Linked DNA regions of Homo sapiens: region 2 is linked to region 1. The links are contacts of gene promoters, found by promoter capture Hi-C in blood cells and fetal thymus (Javierre and others, 2016). All regions are on one chromosome and are shown on one strand. The core of a region is centred on a gene start or on the middle of the fragment in contact, and the rest is flanking DNA. Distances in the headings are between cores, read along the strand shown.

The links. The method cuts DNA at HindIII sites, captures the fragments that hold promoters and counts their contacts. A CHiCAGO score of 5 or more calls a contact.
Region 2: a contact is called between a fragment that was not itself captured here and the fragment with the promoter of RHEX in region 1, in 1 of 17 cell types (erythroblasts). The highest score is 5.2, in erythroblasts.

What each region holds. Positions count from the first base shown.
Region 1 is chr1:206,049,040-206,055,817 of GRCh38, reverse strand. RHEX (regulator of hemoglobinization and erythroid cell expansion) reads right to left here and starts at 2,645. Exons shown (of 6, transcript NM_001007544.4): 1 at 2,553-2,645. LOC105372857 (a long non-coding RNA gene) reads left to right here. Exons shown (of 3, transcript XR_922473.3): 3 at 1-2,375. RefSeq lists enhancers at 2,530-2,589, 3,010-3,249, 4,613-5,112, 6,267-6,336. The HindIII fragment of the contact is 7,500 bases long and covers 1-6,778 here.
Region 2 is chr1:205,795,542-205,798,287 of GRCh38, reverse strand. SLC41A1 (solute carrier family 41 member 1) reads left to right here. Exons shown (of 11, transcript NM_173854.6): 7 at 237-384; 8 at 1,285-1,364. Among named protein-coding and RNA genes, the nearest start is that of SLC41A1, 16 kb to the left of the region's middle. The HindIII fragment of the contact is 5,369 bases long and covers 1-2,746 here.

The DNA of each region.
Region 1 (6,778 bases), core at 1,396-3,895:
AAAACTCCAACTGCCACTTTTTCTCTTTCTGACACATAGAGTGTAAAAGGTTTTGTCAGGTCAGGTAGCCCCAGGGCTGGGGCCGACATGGGTTTTTTCTTTTTTTCAACTCATGAAAAGCTCATTGCTGTTGGGTGTAATAGATGCAGTTTATCTAATCTACATTTTTATTGACTGTCATCTACCAAAATATTGACTTAAATCCTGTAGCTATTTGATTTCGGACTTTAAATTGATCTGGTGTTCCTTGCGGGGCTTCGATTGCATCTAAATAGATGTGAGAGTTGAAAGACCCATAAGGGGCTTCTCTCGCTTTACGATGTCTTATTATTTTTTTTTTCCTTCCTCTGGTTGATGAAATGCCAGGGTGAAAGGGATAGCCAAATAGGCTAAAGCACAAGTGCCACTCTAGTTATTCGGCAGAGTGCCCAATAAAGGTCCACGACAATACCATCACACATCCGCTCGGGGATGAACAAGGGCTGACTGACTGATAAGCTCTTGAAAATTCTTAAGCTCACTGCATCCCTTCAGGTCTCCAAGGAATGCTAAGTCTCCTCCCTGCCATGAGAGACATGAAGTGAACTTAGTGTTGGGAGACGGAAGCTGGACGGCCCTCAGGGGCTGACCCGCAGGGACTTTGGGATATAGCAGAGAGAGCTTGGCATGACTTATTACTCCAAGCTGTAGAAACCTGGAAAATAGCTACCCTGCAGCCCATGCCTGGTCAACTGGAGGACCACCTTAGTGGAAGGGGGACAATCAGGGCCTCTGGCCTGCCATGTGCACAAGCATAACAATTGCATTTGTTTAAAGTGCAGATGGAATATTTGATCCATTTCAGCCAGGCACTTGCATCTTGGCGTGCTGTCTTAATTGCCAAAGTTTGTTTTAAGTCTTTAACTTTTATGATCCTCTAGTAAAATGAATGTTTCCTTTAGCACCAATTTTTATTAGTTTTTAGACCAAAGAAAGCTAAACACCATTTTATATTTAATAATGTTTCTTGTATGATTTTTATACCAGATAAGCTAAATTTTACCTTTATATTAGTGTGTTATTAATTTTAAACTGAATTTTAATAAAACCTTGTAGACATATTTATCCAATTTTTCATGTTTGACCATAAGGTAAGATTTTATAGACTCTTTTTAACCTTTTATAATTTTTGTTAAAGAGCAGGTTGATGCTTTAAGAAAAACCTGTGGCATTTTTTACTTTAATGTCCAGTTCACAGAAAAACTGGATGATACCTTTTTAACTTTAGCTAATATGTTTACACACAGAATTTTCTTTATAATTAACGTTTTAAAACTTGCTTAAACTTTTAAAACAATAATTGTTTTTAACCTTTTAATGTAGGTAAAAATCCACATTCTTATGCCCCTTTATAATCTTTTTACCAAAGGTATGTTTTACTTTTCTTATACACCTTGCACATAAACTGTTTTTTTAATAGTACTCAGGAGGCCTTATTACTTTTAAATTATACAACATTTTTTGCATAAATTTTTTTATAACATTTTTTCTTTCACGACTTTTGCCGACAATTCTTCAATGTGTCTCAACTTTCTGACTTATTACAAACATTTTTTTTCTTTAAACACCAGTTAGTTTATTTCAGGACAAGAATTTACCATATAACACTCTTTTTACATAAATTCTGTCTCCCCCCACTTTTTTTTTTTTTTGAAGATAACCATTCCTTTTTTTTTTTTTTAAAGCAAACTTTCTTTATGCCTTTGGACTAGACTGTCTAAGGCCACAAGATTAGAAGTTACCATAATACATGTTACACTGTTAACTTTAAGCAAACTTCACTTTTGTTGAAAACCTTGTAAGTTTGGGATTTCAATTATCCTTTGCTATTAAGACCTTGTTTAGTCTAAATTAACTTAGAATTGGTATAGATGGCCTTTTTTTCTCTCTACTGGTCTTTCCTTGCCTCTGCCAGCCGCTTATGCTGCTGTTCTCTTAACTACGTTGGCGGGGCAAGGGGGTATAAAAGCAGCTGTAACTTTCTATGTATGGAAACTGGTCTGGGTGCCTTGGCTTACGGGTTACCTTGTGTCATACCTTTGAAACAAGGGACCTGTCCAGGCTTCCTTCTGATGGCCAACCCACCTCTAATGCTGGCCAGTCTATTTCACACAAAGTTCTAAGTTTTCCTGGTGTCACAGTAACACTGTAATCTCCCTTAAATTCTTTCTTGAATTTTTTTTTAACATAGTTCCTAGTGGGGTGGGCTTATTTGTACCTGACCCATGCTTCTTCGAGACAAAACACCACACCCACACCACACACATGCCACAAACAAAAAAACAGGTAAAAAGGGCATACACACTCTTGCAGTTTACACCAAACCAAAATCAAAACCAAAATCAGAGTATCCAGAAATCCAAGCCAGGTCAAAACCAAAACCAAAACCAAAGTATCACACAATCTAAGTCAAGTCAAAACCAGAACAGAAGTGCCAATGCAGGCATGTCGTGGGTGATCAGGCCACACTTCCACCTAGATGGAGTGGGGCAAGTTCCAAAGACTAGTCTTACCAAGTTTCAGATGTCCGGACTCCAAGTGCCAGTTCCTTCCCGGTGTTCAGCCACTGTGTTAATCCTCCACAGGGAACTGCTACACGCTGCTCTGGTGAGGCATTCCACCGGGGCAATTTCCTACCCGGGAGTGCTCTTTGGATCGCGTCACTCGGGCTGGCCGGAGTCCGCCTCAGGGATGCTCCACAGGGGAGGCCTAAGCCGCCTAAGGGGCTGCCTCGGCTGTCCATCAGTTACCTCGTTTCCTGGTCAGGGAACCAAGAAATGTAGCAGGACGAGCCGCAGACAAAACCCCTCAGACACCAAATTGTAGAAGGAAGGGCTTTATTCAGCTGGGAGCATCAGCAGGCTACTGCCTTAAAATCCGAGCTCCCCGAATGCACAATTTCCGTCCCTTTTAAGGGCTCACAATACTAAAGATTTCACATGAAAGGGTCATGATTGATTTGAGCAAGCAGGCGGTATGTGACAGGGGCTGCATGCACCGGTGGTCAGAGAGAAACAGAACAGGGCAGGGAGTTTCACAATGTTCTTCTATACAATGTCTGGAATCTATGAATAACATCAGTTTCTAAGTTATGAGTTGATTTTTAACTACTGGGTTTAGGCCAGGCAGGCCCAGGCCTGGTTTCGGGCCTGGCGCCGGACTGCCTGTCTTTGGTTTTACTTCCTTGTTGTTTTTCCTTAAAACAGGTACTGAGTATAAAACAATATAAAACAATATGAGAGGGTCTCTCTCTTCCCTCACAGTGACCTGGGTCTCAGACACTTCCTAACTGTGATCTTAGGACAAACACTTAGCTTTTCTGAGCCTCATCTGTGAAACAGACAGAATATGAATGCCTACCTCATGGAGTTGTTTAAGAACTCAGTGATCAGACTATTATTCAACAGTAATAACGAGCCAGGCCCAGTGGCTCACGCCTATAATCTCAGCACTTTGGGAAGTCAAGGCAGGAGGACCGCCTGAGCTCAAGAGTTTGAGACCAGCCTGGGCAATATAGCTAGACCTTGTCTCTACTTTAAAAAAAAAAAATCCGAAAATTAGCTGGGTGTGCTACTGCATGCCTGTAGTCCCAGCTCCTTGAGAGGCTGAGATAGGAGAATCACTTAAGCTAGGGAAGTCGAGGCTGCAGTGAGCCATGATCACACCATTGTACTCTAGCCTGGGTGACAGAGCAAGACCCTGTCACAAAAACAAACAAAGAAACAGAAGACAGGAATAACCACCATTTGTATTGTTCTAGTTTTCAGTTGGTCTTACCTGAGCAGAGTAATTGGGTGAGATTGTTCATGGAGGCATTGCTGGCTCTCTAGTCCTGGAACCTACAGTTGGTCCAATTCATTATGCCAAAGGGTCCGTCTAGGAGGTTCTTGTTCCAAGTATTGAGATTCCCGAGAGAAGTAGGTCCCCTTAGATAGAAGCAGAGTTTCTCAGAGGTATTTAGCAGCAGCTGGTGGACACAGGACTCAGGGAGCTGGCCCCCCTCTTCCCTTCCATGTCTTTCATTCCTGCATGGGAACCTGTCAGATGGGGAGATTGTTAAAATCTCACCACTGGAGGGGAGGGCCTCAAAGGCCATGGAGACAGCACCTCTCTCTTAGTGAAGGCATCTTCAGATAGAATTCAGCACAAATTCAAAGGTGGCTCCCCAGACCCTATCTGTCACATCGCCCTCTCATCTATTAGTATCTGAAGTCACCTTGATCATTTATTTGTTTACTTGATTATTGTCAGCCTCTCATCACATGAATGTGAGCTTCATAAGAACAGAGACCTTATCTGTTTTGGCCAACATTTCACCCCCAGTGTCTAGAAAGTGCCTCATGCAATGAATAGGTCCAATACATATTTCTTCAATAAATGAATGAATGAATGAATGCCAAAGACTCCTTCATAAAAGCCAGGGTCAACTGACCTCTGCCAGAATTTTGGAGAGCCTACACCACAGACTTTTGAACCTCTTAGCTGATGACAAATCTTTAGCCTTCGAAGCGGAAATTGATTTGAAAGAGCCCAAAGTACTCCGGTAAAGTAGGTGATGTTGAACTGGGTAATGTCAATTTCAGAAAAAGAGGACACGTGCCTGTGAAACACCAAGAGCAGTGTCCTGGGGTTGGGGAGGACACCTGCCTGGGTGTGGGTGGCCAAGGGGAAGAAGGAAGAGAAAGAGCAGGGGAAGATGCTGTCCCACAGCCACCACCACAGGTGTTCACCGGCCTCAGGCGCCAGCCCTGCTCAGGGTGAGAGGCGAAGAGGGAGGTGTGCTTAAGGCCAAATGAAAGAGGATCTGCCACCCTCTCCTCCCCCAACTCTTACCACATTCTAGCAAAGAGAGCTGCAGGAGCAGTCAGGAAATCCCCTAACAAGGCAAGCATTGGAACCAAGAGCCCAGGTGGCACGGATGAGTCACTTCACTTACTTGGACTCAGTTCCCCTATTTGTGAAATGAAGCAAGGATGAGAAGAGGAACAAGACGTGATCAAGAAAAAGGCAAATGTTTTCACAAGTGCCTGTCATTGCCCCCTTCTGTTGTCCCCTTCCACATGTCACCTGGTACATTGTACATTTCTTCTAACAATTGTGTTATTGGCCAGGAAATACAGAGAATTCTTTTAGAGAATAGGTTTTCTAAGTGTTAAAATTGTTTTTATTTTTAATTTTGTAAGGGGAGGACATCATCACCTTTTCAGTTTGGGACTTTTGAAGTGTTTGTTTCATTAGGTCACATTCAGATGGTTTTAGAATTCAAAAGGTACAAAAGGATAGTCCTGGAAAAGCTGCTCATCTGCTCTTGACCCCAGCCATCTAGTTCTCCTCCCTGGAGGAAACCAGCATGCCCAGTTTATTGTGTACGTTATGTGTACATGAGCAAACACACAGACACACAGAAACACACTCACCATACAGGCGTCTTCCTTACACATGACAGTGTACTACATACTTTGTTTTGCCTTTTGCTTTTTCACTTAATATATCTAGGAGTTAATTTATTATTAATACATACAGAACTTTCTCATTCCTTTCTTCCTCTTCAGAGTGTTCCGTTCTATGGTTGCTCACAGTTTATTTAACTGGTCATCTAGTAGTAAATTTAGATTGTTTCCACTTTTTACACTTGAAATGATGATGTAATTATTAAACTGCAACAAACATCATTTGCACAGGTGTAAATATGTGTGTAAAATTAGAGAAATGGCCATTAAAGTAGATCTGCCATCCCAGTTTTAGGAAGTCAGTATTCCTTTTTACAAATCCAAAATACAGTGTTACCCAATTTGACTACTCATATTATAATCCAGATTTCACTCTGGCTGTTTCCAAAAATCAAAGCACTCCTCAGAGAACAAAGATATGACATCACTGAGGATATTCAACAGAACTACCAATTTCTCTAAAGGCCGACCTCCAAGGAGAATCCAAACGCCTTCAGCAATAACAGCATCACTAGAGTGAGTATAGCATGTCCCTGGATGCTGATGATGGAGCGATAAACCCTCATGACACAGACATTTCCAAACAATTCAGGCAAAGTTTACTGAGTGCCAACTACATAGTCTGTTTAAAGCCCAGTCTGTCCTATTACACTGGTCTTTCAGTTTAAATAAATAAATAAATAAATATAAATAAATAAATAACCCAGTCTGTAAGGATGAATAGAAAAAGGCCTTGTCATCAAGAAACCAATGATCTAGGGAGCAGTTCTCAAAGTGTAGTCCAGGGACCCCCTGGGGGTTCCAGAGATCTTTTCAGAGGGTTCATGAGGTCAAAACCACTCTCTTAATAATACTAAGATACTAGTTGCCTTTTTCACTCTCAGTTTCTCTCAAGCATACAGTGGAGTTTCCCAAAGTCTATGTGACATGTGGTATGGCATGAGACTGAGTGCAAAGGCAGACCTGAGAACTCAGCTGTCTTTTATTGAGCTAGGTATGAATAATGAGATTTGCACATGCATAAAACAGTGCTTCTCTTTTCATTAAATTCTTCATGCTTTGGGAAATAGTTATATTTCATAAAAAGTGTTATGTTTAAGATGTAATGGCTTTGGTACTATTTTCTAAGGGGATTAGATAAATATTTTTAAATTTTCTTAGTTTTAATTTCTGATATGGTCAATATGAATAGATATAAACTACATAAACAATAGCGTTTTGGGTTCCTTAGTACTTTTTGAGAGTGTACAGGGGTCTGGAGGCCAAAGAGTTTGAGAATTGCTGATCTA
Region 2 (2,746 bases), core at 1-2,500, 260 kb after region 1:
CCTAATTGGCTCAGTGCCTGGCTAGCTCTCTCCCTTGGTTTCCTCATCCATAAAATGGAAAAGGCTTGTCCCACCTACCTCCTGAGCTGCCAGTGAAGATCAAATGGGATAATGTGTTTACTGGCATTTAGTGTAGTCTTGCTATTGATCTGTTGGGACATTTTCAGGCTGAGCCAGGGAGAAACTTAGGGTAGGGAAACACAGTGCTTATCTCCTTCTGACCTCTGCCCTCTCAGATCACTGGCGATACATCTACCCACTGGTGTGTGCTTTCTTTGTGGCCCTGCTGCCTGTCTGGGTGGTGCTGGCCCGACGAAGTCCAGCCACAAGGGAGGTGTTGTACTCGGGCTGGGAGCCTGTTATCATTGCCATGGCCATCAGCAGGTAGGCTGGGGCCCTGAGTATCCACTCCTACCCCACTCCAACCCTTCCACAGACTTCTTTTTAAACCCTGGAGAGATGGGGTGGGGGTCAGACCCTAGAAATGTGTTCATTAGTGTTTCAGTCACATGTCCTTCTGTTGAAAATGACAGAAACCATCTGAACTGGGTTTCATTCCAAGGCAGAATGTATTGGCCTGGAGAACCAAAAAGGCACAGCTGAATTCAGCGACATACCTAAGATCAGGGCCCCAGTACTCTGTGACTCTTAGCTCTGCTCTTCTCTGTCATGGCCTACAGCCCAGGTTTATGCTTTTCTTACTCCTACAAATTCCAGTGGGAAGAGAGATTCTTCCCCCAACAGTTCCACAAAGTCCCAGAATAGAGTTCCACTGCTTCTCATCTGGTGACATGATTATCTCCAAACCAGTCAGCGTGGCCTTGGGGCTGCAATCCTCTGATTGGATGGACCTGGAGCCTAGCTATCATTGAGGCATTGTCACCTGAGCCACAGTCACTGAGCTTGAGAGAGGTGGTTCCCTGTGGAGGAGCCCAGTGCTATCACCAGAAAGGGAAGTAAATGCTGAGTGGGCAGAACAACAGAGGTCCTCAGAGGCAGATAGTCCTGCAGGCTGCTCCTCCGGCCAACTTAGAGGGCAGGTACAGGAGGTGGTTGCCTGACCCAGTACCACCAGCTTGTTCTGGAGTCACTGTGCCCAGTCAGAATGTTATGAGCAGCACCTAATCCTGTCAAGGGAGGCAAGGACTGGATGGTGAGGAACTCCTGAGAGCCATGGTGCTTCCCTTCATCTCCAAGGATAGGTGGGCCTGGACCTCTCATCCCAGAGACTAAGGCAGAACCCTTCAGTGGTCTTTGCGTCATTTTGTCTTTATGTCTCTATAGTGTGGGAGGCCTCATCTTGGACAAGACTGTCTCAGACCCCAACTTTGCTGGGATGGCTGTCTTCACGCCTGTGATTAATGGTGAGGTCTGGGCATCAGCTATCAGAGGGCAGGGCTGGGGGAAGGAAAGGGACAGGAGAAGAGGACTTAAGGGGTTGGTTTCTGTATCAGTCAGGGTTCCAGCAGACGAGAATCTAGCTCAGATGGTTCAAGACCTTAATGAAGGGACTGCTTACAGAGGTGGGAGCAGAGTAAAAGGACAGATAAGGGATGTTGAGGCACCGAGAGATTAGCAGCAATGGGAAGCCTCTACTCCTAAAGGGTCAAGGGGAGTATCATAGTCCATTATCTGTTGCTAGAACAGAATACTTGAAACTGGCTAATTTATAACGAAAAGAAGTTTATTTAGCTCACAGTTCTGGAAGCTGGGAAGTTCAAGATTGAGCAGCTGCTTCTAGTGAGGGCCTCATGCTGCATCCAAACATCCAAATGGAGAAACAGAAGGAAAACTGGGCATGTGCAAAATGGGCAAAACAAGAGAGGCAAACCTCGCTTTATGACAACCCACTCTCATGGGAACTATACCTTTCCCAAGAAAGACATTAATCCATCTTAATAACCTATTCACTCTTAAAGGCACCACCTCCCACCACCACATTTGGGGACCAAGCCACAACATGAGTTTTGTTGGGGACAAACTATATTCAAACCATAGTAACGAGGGAATAGCATTATAGGAGTCCAGTGAAAGCTCTGTCTTTGCCCCCAACATGGGGAAGCCAATGCTGAAAAGCAGGGAGGGATTGGGAAAGAAATACCTGATCTCTCTCTCCACCTGCCCTCTGGTTGCCTGCTGTTGCCTCCCACTGAACAAACAGTGGAAGCAGCCAGCAAGGGAGACTGGGTAATGCAGTCTGTGGAGACCAGTCCCCCAGAGCTCAGAGCAAGGCTGAGAAGAGCAGGGAGCAGGTTGGGATGTGAGGGCAACAGAGAAATCAGCACAGGTCCTGGCGGAGATACCAGATTCCAGAGTTTGGAGCTCAAACCTGATCCTTGAAACTGGTTACCAGAATCAGCATATGACCATAGGATGCCTGGGTCTGCTCAGAGCATTGGAGAGGAGGTGAGGCGGTGAGGCAAGGCAGGGCTTCATCCCCTCAGCTGTGTAGGAAGGCAGGTGCCCATGCTCTACTGGTGGAGAAGTCAGGCTCTCTGAGTCTGCAGATCTGCACGTATCCTTTCCGGCACTGTCACAGCTTTGCCAGGGGAACATGGAACTGCTGCATCTCCATAGAGGGGAGGATGGGGGAGGCTGGAAGATGCACTGGAAGCAGGGGTCTTTGTCTTCCTTCTTAGTGCCTTACTCTTCTTTTGGGGACTGGTGAATGGGTGATGCCCACATAGACCCTAAATTAAGACAGAGGACAGTGCCTCTATAGATAGAAGACAAAGAGTGAGAAGAT